4 separate regions of the Homo sapiens genome follow, and all the other regions are linked to region 1. The links are contacts of gene promoters, found by promoter capture Hi-C in blood cells and fetal thymus (Javierre and others, 2016). All regions are on one chromosome and are shown on one strand. The core of a region is centred on a gene start or on the middle of the fragment in contact, and the rest is flanking DNA. Distances in the headings are between cores, read along the strand shown.

Region 1 (2,795 bases), core at 95-2,594:
ACTCAGTGCAAGAAGACAGCTGAGACTTCCTGTGATATCCTTTTCGCGACCAATCAGCATTCCCCATTTTCCAGCCTTCTGCTCACCAAATTATCTTTAAAACCCTAGCCTCGGCCGGGTGCGGGGGCTCAGGCCTGTAATCCCAGCACTTTGGGAGGCCGAGGCGGGTGGATCATGAGGTCAGGAGTTTGAGACCAGCCTGACCAACATGGTAAACCCCGTCTCTACTAAAAATACAAAAATTAGCCGGGCATGGTGGCGCATGCCTGTAATCCCAGCTACTCAGGAGGTTGAGGCAGGAGAATCGCTTGAACCCGGGAGGCGGAGGTTGCACTGAGCCGAGATTGCGCCACTGCACTCCAGCATGGGCGACAGAGAGATTCCGTCTCAAAAAAAAACCAAAAAAACAAAACCTAGCCTCCCATTTTTTAGGGAGACAGAATTGAATAAAAATAAAACTCTTCTCTTTCATTTAGCCGGCTCTATGTATATTAAACTCCACTGCAATTCCCTGTCTTTTTTTTTTTTTTTTTTTTCGGAGACAGGGTCTCACTCTGACATCCAGGCTGGTAAAATCACAGCTCACTGTGGCCTCGACCTCTCTGGGCTCAGGCGATCCTCTCATTTCAGCCTTCCGAGTAGCTGGGACTGCAAACATGTACCACCACGCCCGACTAATTTTTGTATTTTTTGTAGAGGCGGGGTTTTGCTATGTTACCCAGGCTGGGCTTAAGTTCCTAGGCTCAAGCAATCTGCCTGCCTTGGCTTCCCAAAGTGGTGGGGTTACAGGCATGAGCTACCCCCACCCCCCCAGCCCACCGCCGGACGAGCTAAAGTTTCTATTCAACAGTACTCTATGGCAGGGGTCCCCAACCCCCGGTCCATGGCCTGTAAGGAACCAGTCCGCACAGCAGGAGGTGAGCGGCTGGCGGGCGAGCCAGCGGGCATTATCGCCAGAGATATGCTTCCTGTCAGATCAGCAGAGGCATTAGTCTGTCATAGGAGCCCGAACCCTATTGTGAGCTGCACATGCGAGGGATCTAGGTTGGGTTCGCCTTATGAGGATAAAATGCCTGATCTGAGGTGGAAGTTTCATTCCGAAACTATCTGCCCCCGTAGGAGAACTGTCTTCCACGAAACCGGTTCTGGTGCTAAAAAGGTTACAGACCTCTGGCTTAAAGAATCTATCGCTGGATCCGGTCAAACCCGTTTTCAGAGCCCCGTTACCAAGGGCTTCTATTGTCACTCACGGCTGAGGGGGCGGGGCCCGGCGCTTCGTCCAATCAGGGGCGCTGGGCGGGGCCTGCCGAGTGTCCATCGGGGAGGGCGAAGGCCCTGCTCTCCTCGGTTCCCGGCTCCAGGCGGCGAGCTGAGGTTGGGAGCCTGGCTTTCCCCTCCGAGAGGGTTCAGGTGCCTCTGCCATAGCTTCTGTCGCCTGTGCTGTGACCCGCACTGGTCGTGGGAGTCACCTGAAAGGCAAGAAATGGTGAGCGTGCGGGCCAGGGGTCCCGAGGCGGGGGAGGAGCTGGTTGGAACCGGCCGGAACCGGCTGTGGTGGGACCCGGGCCTCCCCGCGGCGACTCCGGGGTCTGGGACCCGATTTCCCGTGGGACAGCTCGGCCCTTGGTCCCCTTGGCCCCACAGTGGGGCTGGGCCGGCCGCCGGGACCCGGGCGTCTCGTCCTGTCCCTGCGCGGTGACTGTCACCCAGTTCCCAGAGCCCTCTCTGGGCAGCTCCGCGCCCGCTGCCCCGCGTCTCCCCACATTGTGCGGGGACTACGCGAGGGTCATGGGGGGATCCCGCCTCGGGTGTGGGGGTTTGTGTAGGAGGAGGGTGGGCTGTGGGGTCCCCAGTAGCGCCTTTCTCCTCTTAAAAATTAAACTGAGACACGTTAACAATTATAGTTTTGCTTCTCAGAATAGGTTTTAAAAAATATATTAATAATTAGAGTTCCTTTGAGATTCCTGAATGATAAACACCCAGTCCTGGCTTGTAATTTGTTAACGGAAAATGCCAAGCTGTGTAAAATAACTTAAAGAAGTTTATTCAGAGCCGAATAGGAGAGGCCTCAGCTGAGGAAAACACAACCCCAGGAGGCCTGAAGTAAGTGGTCCCGAGGCGGCTCAAGACTGTTTTTATTCATTTCAGGGAGACAGGAATTGCAGGGAGAATCATGCATCAATGCCTGGAAAGGTGTAAGTTCCTTTGGCAGAAAGGGCGGGACCTGTGGAAGGGGGGTTAGAAGGTGCAGGTGGTTGAGGGATTCTGAAGGTGGCCGTTGGTGGAGAGTGTGAAGCTTTGTCTAAAACTTCGAGGCGGTAGGAAGGATTGCTTAAGTGAAGAGGGTCTGGTATCTGTCATATGATTTCATCCCACCCAAAACAAAAGACCTGTTTCTTTAGATTTTGTGAATTCTAAGATTTGACTTACCTCTTGCCTTGCATGGCCTTAGGTCTTGTTTGTAATTTGGTTTCTTATTGTCACAGAGAGTCTGTGTTTCCAGTTGGCTGATGTCTGTTTTAACATGAAGGTGGGTCAGTGGCTATGTGGAAACTCCTAAAGGAAGCGGGTATAATGAGGCCTGTCCAGGTATAGTGAAGCCTGTCTGATGGTTAATCTGTAGTCAAGTGTGGGAGGGTTCCAGCTGGCTCTTTCCAGTGTCAGGTGACTCAATTCCAGAGTCACATTACTTTAAACTTCAAGATAATTTAGAGTTCCAACAGCTTCAATTTTTGAATTACTTATTTTCACAGACCATACAGTGGAAAATTTTTGGTTGTATAATCAGAGGTTAC
Region 2 (2,795 bases), core at 164-2,663, 120 kb after region 1:
CAGGTGATGCACCCCCCTCAGCCTCCCAAAGTGCTGGGATTACAGGTGTGAACCACCGCGCCCAGCCTCCCACTAAGTCTCTTTCATTTGGCCTGGCACAGTTTCCCATGCCTTAATCCCAGCACGTTGAGTGGTCGAGGCAGGTAGATTGCTTGAGCCCAAAAGTTTGGCCTATGACCACCTTGGGCAACATAGTGAGAACTAGTCTCTATTTTATTAAAAAGAGAAATACACACACACATATTTATATACATAAAACAGGGCGAGCATAGTAGCTCACGCCTGTAATCCAAGAACTTTGGGAGGCCAAAGTGAGTGGATCACCTGATATCAAGAGTTCAAGACCAGCCTGGCCAACATGGTGAAACCTTGTCTCTAACTACCAATACAAAAATTATCCGGACATGGTAGTGCACACCTGTGATCCTGGCTATTCTGGAGGCAGAGGCAGTAGAATCGCTTGAACCCAGGAGGCAGAAGTTGCAGTGAGCTGAGATCACGCCATTGCACTCCAGCCTGGACAACAGAGCACAAACTCCATCTCAGGAAGAAAAAAAAAAAAAAAAAAGTAAAAGTTCCTTTTTTGTCCCAAGTCGTTATGGGCTATCACTACTATCACCAGTAGTTGCCTATGAAGCACACCTATTCTCACAATGGGTCCAAGAGGAAAAGTAGAAGATTTGGAGACATTCCAGGTAGATCCAAATGCAGCACGATATCATATACGATAGTATATGATTTATGTGAGGACTCTTGGGATGACTTAGCTGAGGCTGGTATAACAAAATACCATGGACTCAGTTTCTTAAACAGCAGAATTTTTTTCTCACAGTTCTGGAGCTTCGGGAGTCCAACATCTTGCTGCCAGCAATTTTGTTCCTAGTGAAGAGTGTCTTCCTGGCTTGCAGCTAGATGACTTCTTGCTGTGTCCTCACATGCTGGAGAGACAGAGTTCTCTCTCTCTTCTTACTCATCCCATTGTGAGAGCCCTCCTTTATAAATGTATGTGATCTCCTAAAGGGTTCGTGTCCAAATATGACCATGTTGGGGTTTAGGGCTTGCAAGTATAAGTTTTGTTTTTGAGACAGGGTCTCCCTGTGTGGCCCAGGCTGGTTTTAAACTCCTGGGCTCAAGGGATCCTCATGCCTCGGCCTCCCAAATACTGGGATTACAGGAGTGAGCCACCACACCTGGCCTCCAAGTATATATTTTGAGGAGAGTAAATACAAGACACGCCAAGGGGTAAACAGAAGCCCAAAAAGAGGCTTTGGAGACGATGTAATCAGACAGGACTTTATCACATAGCAGATGGGGAGCAAGAGTCACAAAGGAGTGAGGTCTAATTTCAGAATGGCAGAGAGAAGGGACATCGAGGTAGCTGTATGATTGCATGAAGGATGAAAATGCTGCCAGAGCCACTACATGGAAAAGTATTGTAATTATCTAGGAAAAAATGAGAATAAAAAAGAAAAACAAGGGGCCAGGCGCGGTGGCTCACGCCTGTAATCCCAGCACTTTGGGAGGCCAAGGTAGGCGGATCACGAGGGCAGGAGATTGAGACCATCCTGGCTAACACGATGAAACCCCGTCTCTACTAAAAATACAAAAAATTAGCCGGGCGTGGTGGCGGGCGCCTGTAGTCCCAGCTACTCAGGAGGCTGAGGCAGGAGAATGGCGTGAACCCGGGAGGCGGAGGTTGCAGTGAGCGGAGATCGCACCACTGCACTCCAGCCTGGGCGACACAGCGAGACTCCGTCTCAAAAAAAAAAAAAAGAAAAACAAGTAATCATAATGAAAATGGAAAACAGAAAATGAAAAACAGAATAACCTTGGTTAGTATGCAGTTGTTAAAGATTTTAAATAAAATATTTGTCAGAAACATGTACAGATATCTTGGTTTTAAAAAAAAAACCCTAATTGCTGAGCATGGTGGATCATGTCTGCAATCCTAGCACTTTGGGAGGCCGAGGCAAGAGGATTGATTGAGCCCGGGAGTTCGAGACCAGCCTGGGCAAAACCGTGACACCCTTGTCTCTACAAAAAATTTTTGAAAATTAGCTGGGCAGAAAGCCGAGGTGGGAGGATTGCTCAAGCCCAGGAGCTTGATGCTGCAGTGAGTGACCAGAACACTGCACTCCAGCTGGGCTACAGAGCAAGGATGTCTCAAATTAAAATAAAAGAAAACGAGGAGAAAAAGAGAGATAACTACAAATTAGTCAAATGTAAGAGGATGACTGGATACTGCTACACAGAAGATGAAAGATTATATAAGAAAAATGCTCAACCAATGGCAACAAATAAAAAGCAATAAATAATCACACAGAGATTCTGTTTAAGAGTAAATGGGCGACGAAAAGTGAGTTAGATAATTCAAAGTGTTGGCAAATCACAAGAATAAAGGCACGTGCATGAAAGGTGAGATGGTTAATTCATAAGTTACATTCATACTGTACTGACATTTCCTAGTAAATTTGAATTTACCCATAATCTACAACCCAGCAATTATTTCCCAATGTGTAAAACTTTGTGTTGTATTTCCAGTTAGGAATAAAAACAAGAAAAGCATTGTCAATAAGATCAAGAGATAGGCTGGGCATGGTGGCTCATGCCTGTAATCTCAGCACTTTGGGAGGCCGAGGCGGGTGGATCACCTGAGGTCAGGAGTTCGAGACCAGCCTGGACAACATGGTGAAACCGTCTCTACTAAAAATGCAAAAATTAGCTGAGTGTGGTTGCAGGTGCCTATAATCCCAGCTACTCAGGAGGCTGAGGTAGGACAGTTGCTTGAGCCCAGG
Region 3 (2,795 bases), core at 77-2,576, 110 kb before region 1:
TTGAGCTGAAGAGTTTGAGGCTACACTCGGCCATGATAGCACCATTACACTCTAGCCTGGGTTAAAGGGCAAGACCCTGACTCAGAAGCAATAAAATTGACAAAGACAGTTAGTACTTGTAAAATAGTTTACCTGAAAATAGTGTTGGCCGGGCGCCCAGGTGTATGCCTGTAATCCTAATGCTTTAAGAGGCTGAGGTGGGCAGATTGCTTGAGTCTAGGAGTTTGAGACCAGCCAGGGAAATGTGACAAAACCCCATCTCTAGCAAATATACAAAAATTAGCCAGGCACGATGGTATGCTTGTAGCCTCAGGTAATCAGGAGGCTGAAGTGGCAGGACGGCTTCAGATCGGGAGATGGAGGTTGCAGTGAGCTGAGATCTCACCACCGCACTCCAGCCTGGATGACAGAGTGAGACCCTATCTCAAAAAATGTTTAAAAAGTACTAAGAAGCCCTATATCAATATTATCTTTCTTGATAACAGGTATAGCTGGGCCATCTTGTAGAGCATGTGTGGTCTGTTCATGTTCAGACAGGGCAGAAAGCCTACACATTGCTGTACAGTGTTAGAAATACAAGTGCAATGACTTGTTAATGAATATCAAATCAGTGATAAAGGAACCCATTATGATATACTTCTCATTGTTCACAGAGGTCTTATGGGAGAGAGACTCTTAGAAAGTAAGAAAGATCATCAGCATGGAGAAATTTTGACCCAGGTTCCAGATGACATGCTGAAGAAGAAAACTCCCCGAGTAAAATCATGTGGAGAAGTCAGCGTGGGTCATGCATCCCTTAATAGGCACCACAGAGCTGACACTGGACACAAGCCATATGAGTATCAGGAATATGGACAGAAGCCATATAAATGTACATACTGTAAGAAAGCCTTCAGTGATCTCCCCTACTTTCGAACACATGAATGGGCTCACACTGGGGGGAAACCTTATGATTGTGAGGAATGTGGAAAAAGCTTTATTTCCCGTTCAAGCATTCGAAGACACAGGATAATGCACAGTGGAGATGGACCCTACAAATGTAACTTTTGTGGGAAAGCCTTGATGTGTCTCAGTTTGTATCTTATCCACAAACGAACTCACACTGGAGAGAAACCATATGAATGTAAACAGTGTGGTAAAGCCTTTAGTCATTCTGGTAGCCTTCGAATACATGAAAGAACTCACACTGGAGAGAAGCCTTATGAATGCAGTGAGTGTGGGAAAGCATTCCATAGTTCCACATGCCTCCATGCACATAAAATAACTCACACTGGGGAGAAGCCGTATGAATGTAAACAGTGTGGGAAAGCCTTTGTTTCTTTCAATTCCGTTCGATATCATGAAAGAACTCACACTGGAGAGAAGCCCTATGAATGTAAGCAATGTGGGAAAGCCTTCAGATCTGCCTCGCACCTTCGAACACATGGAAGGACTCACACTGGAGAGAAACCCTATGAATGTAAACAATGTGGTAAAGCCTTTGGATGTGCCTCGAGCGTTAAAATCCATGAAAGGACTCACACTGGAGAAAAACCCTGTAGCTCCAACACTTCGAAAGGCCAAGGCGAGAAGATTGCTTAATTCACATAAGATTCCTAGAAGCCACCGAATCCAATCATGGTAAAAATGTGTTTCCCTCAAATCATGGGAACCATCGCAAAATTATTCTGAAGCTTCTGCAGTCACTGTCATTTGACAGCATTCAGAAATAAATGCCAGTAGCCCAGGAGCAAAAATTTTTGGGAGTAGTTTAGCTGGGGCCTCACTCAGATACCTAGGACACAGAGTTGGAAATAACTCTTAAGAGAGACACACCTCCAGTAAGACCTTAAGACAGTTCTGTCATAAAAAAAATACGAGGTTTGGCCGGGTGCAGTGGCTCATGCCTATAATCCCAGCACTTTGGGAGGCCGAGGCAGGCGGACCACGAGGTCAGTAGTTCGAGACCAGCCTGGTCAATATGGTGAAACCCCATCTCTACTAAAAAATACAAAAATTAGCCAGGTGTGGTGGCGCCTGTAGTCCCAGCTACTCAGGAGGCTGAGGCAGGAGAATTGCTTGAATACAGGAGGTGGAGGTTGCAGTGAGCTAAGATTGCGCCACTGCACTCCAGCCTGGGTGACAGAGTGAGACTCCGTCTCAAAATAATAATAATAATAATAAGGTTAGCCCAGCAAAGTGGCAGGTATATATATACAGGAAGGTCAGAAAAATCTTTTCCCTCCTATTGAAAGCCCAATACCTAAGTGGCAAGCCCTCATTTTAAGAAACTCACTAAAGGGATAACGGAAGTGCCATTGTCAGACTCACTGCCTCAGAAAGCTTTATCAAAACAAAAGGCTAAAGTTCCTATTCAAAAATATCCTATAATAAATGGCTGGCTATCGGGTACACTACGTATTTTATGCCATTCGTTCTCACGAGTTTTCTTTTTTTTTTTTTTTGAGACAGAGTCGGGCTCTGTCTCCCAGGCTGGAGTGCAGTTGCACATTCTCAGCCCACTGCAACCTCTGCCTCCTGGGTTCAAGCGATTCTTCTGCCTCAGTCTCCCGAGTAGCTGGCTTTACAGGCATGAGCCACCATGCCCAGCCTCTAAACTCTTTTTTTTTTTTTTTTTTTTTTTTTTTTTTTTTTTTGAGACAGAGTCTCACTCTGTTGCCCAGGCTGGAGTGTGTTGGTGTGAGCTCGGCTCAGTGCAACTTCCACCTCCTGGCTTCCCGGGTAGCTGGGATTACGGGCACCCACCACCACGCTAGGCTAATTTTTTATATTTTTAGTAGAGACAGGATTTCACC
Region 4 (2,795 bases), core at 217-2,716, 86 kb after region 1:
GCTGGGACTACCGGTGCGCGCCACCATGCCCAGCTAATTTTTGTATTTTTAGTAGAGACAGGGTTTCACCACGTTGGTCAGAATGGTCTTGATCTCTTCACCTCGTGATCCGCCTGCCTTGGCCTCCCAAAGTGCTGGGATTACAGGCGTGAGCCACTGTGCCCGGTGCAAAAAGTAAACTTTCCATGAGGAAAAAGATGCCTGGCATTTTATCCACATGGTAATACTGACTCACAATGTCCAAATAATAACAATGTAACATTATAAGCTTGATCTAATACATAAAACCAATGGGATATTTTATTATACCTTCTTATTTAAAAAGAATAACATGTTAGTATACTTATGATAATTGTTTACATTAATTATCTGTATTCAAAGAATCTTGGCAGATCTGAAGGCTTTCCCATACTGCTTACATTCATAGAGTTTCTCCCAAGTGTGAACCCTTCCATGCCGTTGAAGGTGCGAGGCACATCTGAAGGCTTTCCCACATTGCTTACATTCATAGGGTTTCACTCCAGTGTAAGTCCTTTCATGATATCAAACGGAACTAGAATACACTCATAGGGTTTCTCTCCCGTGTGAGTCCTTTCATGACATTGAAAAGAAGTAAAAGGAATGAAGGCTTTCCCACACTGCTTACATTGATAGGGTTTCTCCCCAGTGTGAGTCCTTTCATGATATCGAAAAGAACTGGAAAATGTGAAAGTTTTGCCACATTGCTTGCATTCATAGTGCTTCCTTCCAGTGTGAGTCTATTCATGTCCATAAAAGGAACCAGGCTAGCTGAATGCTTTCCCACAATCCTTACATTCATATGGCTTCTCTCCCATATGAGTCCTTGCGTGTATATGCAAGGAAGAAAAATAATTGAATGCTTTTCCGCATTCCTTACATTCATAGTGTTTCTCTCCAATGTGTGTTCTTGCATGTATTTGAAGAATCTTGGCAGATGTGAATCCATTCCCACAATGCTTACATTCATAGGGCTTCTCTCCTCTGTGCTTCCTTTCATGTATTTGAAAAGAAGAGAATTTACAGAATGCTTTTTCGCATTCCTTACATTCATAGGGTTTCTCTCCAGTGTGAGTCCTTTCATGCATCTGAAGGTTTGAGGCAGATCTGAAGGCTTTCCCACATTGCTTACACTCATAGGGTTTCTCTCCAGTGTGAGTCCTACCATGCTTTCGAAGGTTTGAGGCACAACTGAAGGCTTTCCCACATTGCTTACACTCATAGGGTTTCTCTCCAGTGTGAGTCCTTTCATGCATTCGAAGGTGTGAGGCAGATCTGAAGGCTTTCCCACATTGCTTACACTCATAGGGTTTCTCTCCAGTGTGAGTCCTTTCATGATATCGAAGGGAATTGCAACATCTGAAGGCTTTACCACATTGGTTGCATTCATAGGGTTTCTCTCCAGTGTGAGTTTTTTCATGTGTTTGAAATGACTTGGCAGAATAAAAGCCTTTCTCACATATACTACATTTATAAGGTCTTTCTCCAGAGGGCATTCTTATGTGTTTTTCTGTCCTTTCATGAATTTGAAGGTGCTTCACATATCTGAAGGCTTTCCCACATTCCTTACATTCATAGGGTTTCTCTCCAGTATGAGTCCTACCATGCACTCGAAGGTGTGAGGTAGATCTGAAGGCTTTCCCACATTCCTTACATTCATAGGGTTTCTCTCCAGTGTGAGTCCCACCGTGCACTCGAAGCTGTGAGGCAGATCTGAAGGCTTTCCCACACTGCTTACACTCATAGGGTTTCTCTCCAGTGTGAATCCTTTCATGATATCGAAAGGAACTGGAAAGATTGAAGGCTTTACCACATTGCTTGCATTTATAGCGTTTCTCTCCAGTGTGAGTTTTTTCATGTGTTTGAAATGACTTGGCAGAATAAAAGCCTTTCCCACATATCTTACATTTATAAGGTCTTTCTCCAGAGTTCATTCTTATGTGTGTTTGAAAACTTATAAGATAGGATAAGCCTTCCCCATATTGCTTACATTCATACGGTTTTTTCCCAGAGTGGGTCCTTTCATGTCTACGAAGAGAACTGGTATATGCAAATGCTTTTCCACATTCTTTGCATTGATAAGGCTTCTCTCCCATGTGACTTCTTTCATGTCTATGATAGGAACTAGAACTATGAAATGCTTTATCACATTTGCTACATTCATAGGGCTTCTCCCCAGTGTGAGTTCTTTCATGTATTTGAAGGGTAGCAGAATAAGTAAAGGATTTACCACATTGTTTACATTCATATGGTTTCTCTCCAGTGTGAGTTCTTTCATGGATAAGATATAAACTGAAAGAATGGAAGGCTTTCCCACAAAATTTACATTTATAAGTTCCATCCCCACTGTGCATTACCATGTGTCTTCGAATGCTTGAATGGAAAATAAAGGTTTTTCCACAGACTTTACAAGCATAGGGTTTCTCTCCAGTGTGATCCCTTTCTTGTGTTCTAATGGATGGGCGATACCTGAAGGCTTTCTTATTTTTAGGTTGTTGACACTTATATGGCTTTGGTCCATATTCCTGATACTCATATGCCTTGTGTCCAGTGTCACCTCTGATGCTCATATTAAAAGATGAGTTACCTATGCCAACTTCTGCACACACAAAGCTGTCACATGATTTTACTTCAGGAGAAGCTTTCTTCTCCTGGAAGTTCAGTCTGTCATCTGGAACCTGGGTAAAAGTTTCTCCACAATGACTGTCTTCTTTAATTTCATTGACTTTCTCTTCTATGAGACTCCTGTAAAACATGAGAAACACATCATGAAGGGT

Evidence for each region. Contacts are between HindIII fragments. The CHiCAGO score rates a contact against its expected background, and 5 or more counts as called.
Region 2: a fragment that was not itself captured here is called in contact with the fragment with the promoter of ZNF433 in region 1 in 1 of 17 cell types (megakaryocytes); the score reaches 5.7 in megakaryocytes.
Region 3: a fragment that was not itself captured here is called in contact with the fragment with the promoter of ZNF433 in region 1 in 2 of 17 cell types (erythroblasts and megakaryocytes); the score reaches 6.1 in erythroblasts.
Region 4: a contact is called between a fragment that was not itself captured here and the fragment with the promoter of ZNF433 in region 1, in 2 of 17 cell types (erythroblasts and fetal thymus). The highest score is 7.4, in erythroblasts.

Annotation. Positions count from the first base shown.
Region 1 is chr19:12,034,228-12,037,022 of GRCh38, reverse strand. It overlaps ZNF433 (zinc finger protein 433), which reads left to right and starts at 1,344. Exons shown (of 4, transcript NM_001308348.2): 1 at 1,344-1,486. The coding sequence starts at 1,484. ZNF433-AS1 (ZNF433 and ZNF878 antisense RNA 1) reads right to left here. Exons shown (of 3, transcript NR_134929.1): 2 at 1,251-1,469. RefSeq lists silencers at 1,230-1,389, 1,630-1,679, 1,690-1,809. The HindIII fragment of the contact is 7,472 bases long and covers 1-2,298 here.
Region 2 is chr19:11,917,878-11,920,672 of GRCh38, reverse strand. It overlaps a transcript of ZNF69 not described here. Among named protein-coding and RNA genes, the nearest start is that of ZNF700, 5.8 kb to the left of the region's middle. The HindIII fragment of the contact is 3,549 bases long and covers 1-2,795 here.
Region 3 is chr19:12,144,083-12,146,877 of GRCh38, reverse strand. It overlaps ZNF625 (zinc finger protein 625), which reads left to right. Exons shown (of 4, transcript NM_145233.4): 4 at 654-1,988. The coding sequence ends at 1,581. The region is part of intron 3 of ZNF625-ZNF20 (ZNF625-ZNF20 readthrough (NMD candidate)); the gene reads left to right. Among named protein-coding and RNA genes, the nearest start is that of ZNF20, 5.1 kb to the right of the region's middle. The HindIII fragment of the contact is 699 bases long and covers 977-1,675 here.
Region 4 is chr19:11,948,244-11,951,038 of GRCh38, reverse strand. ZNF700 (zinc finger protein 700) reads right to left here. Exons shown (of 4, transcript NM_144566.3): 4 at 276-2,763. The coding sequence ends at 786. It also overlaps a transcript of ZNF69 not described here. Among named protein-coding and RNA genes, the nearest start is that of ZNF763, 15 kb to the left of the region's middle. RefSeq lists a silencer at 1,121-1,350. The HindIII fragment of the contact is 2,391 bases long and covers 271-2,661 here.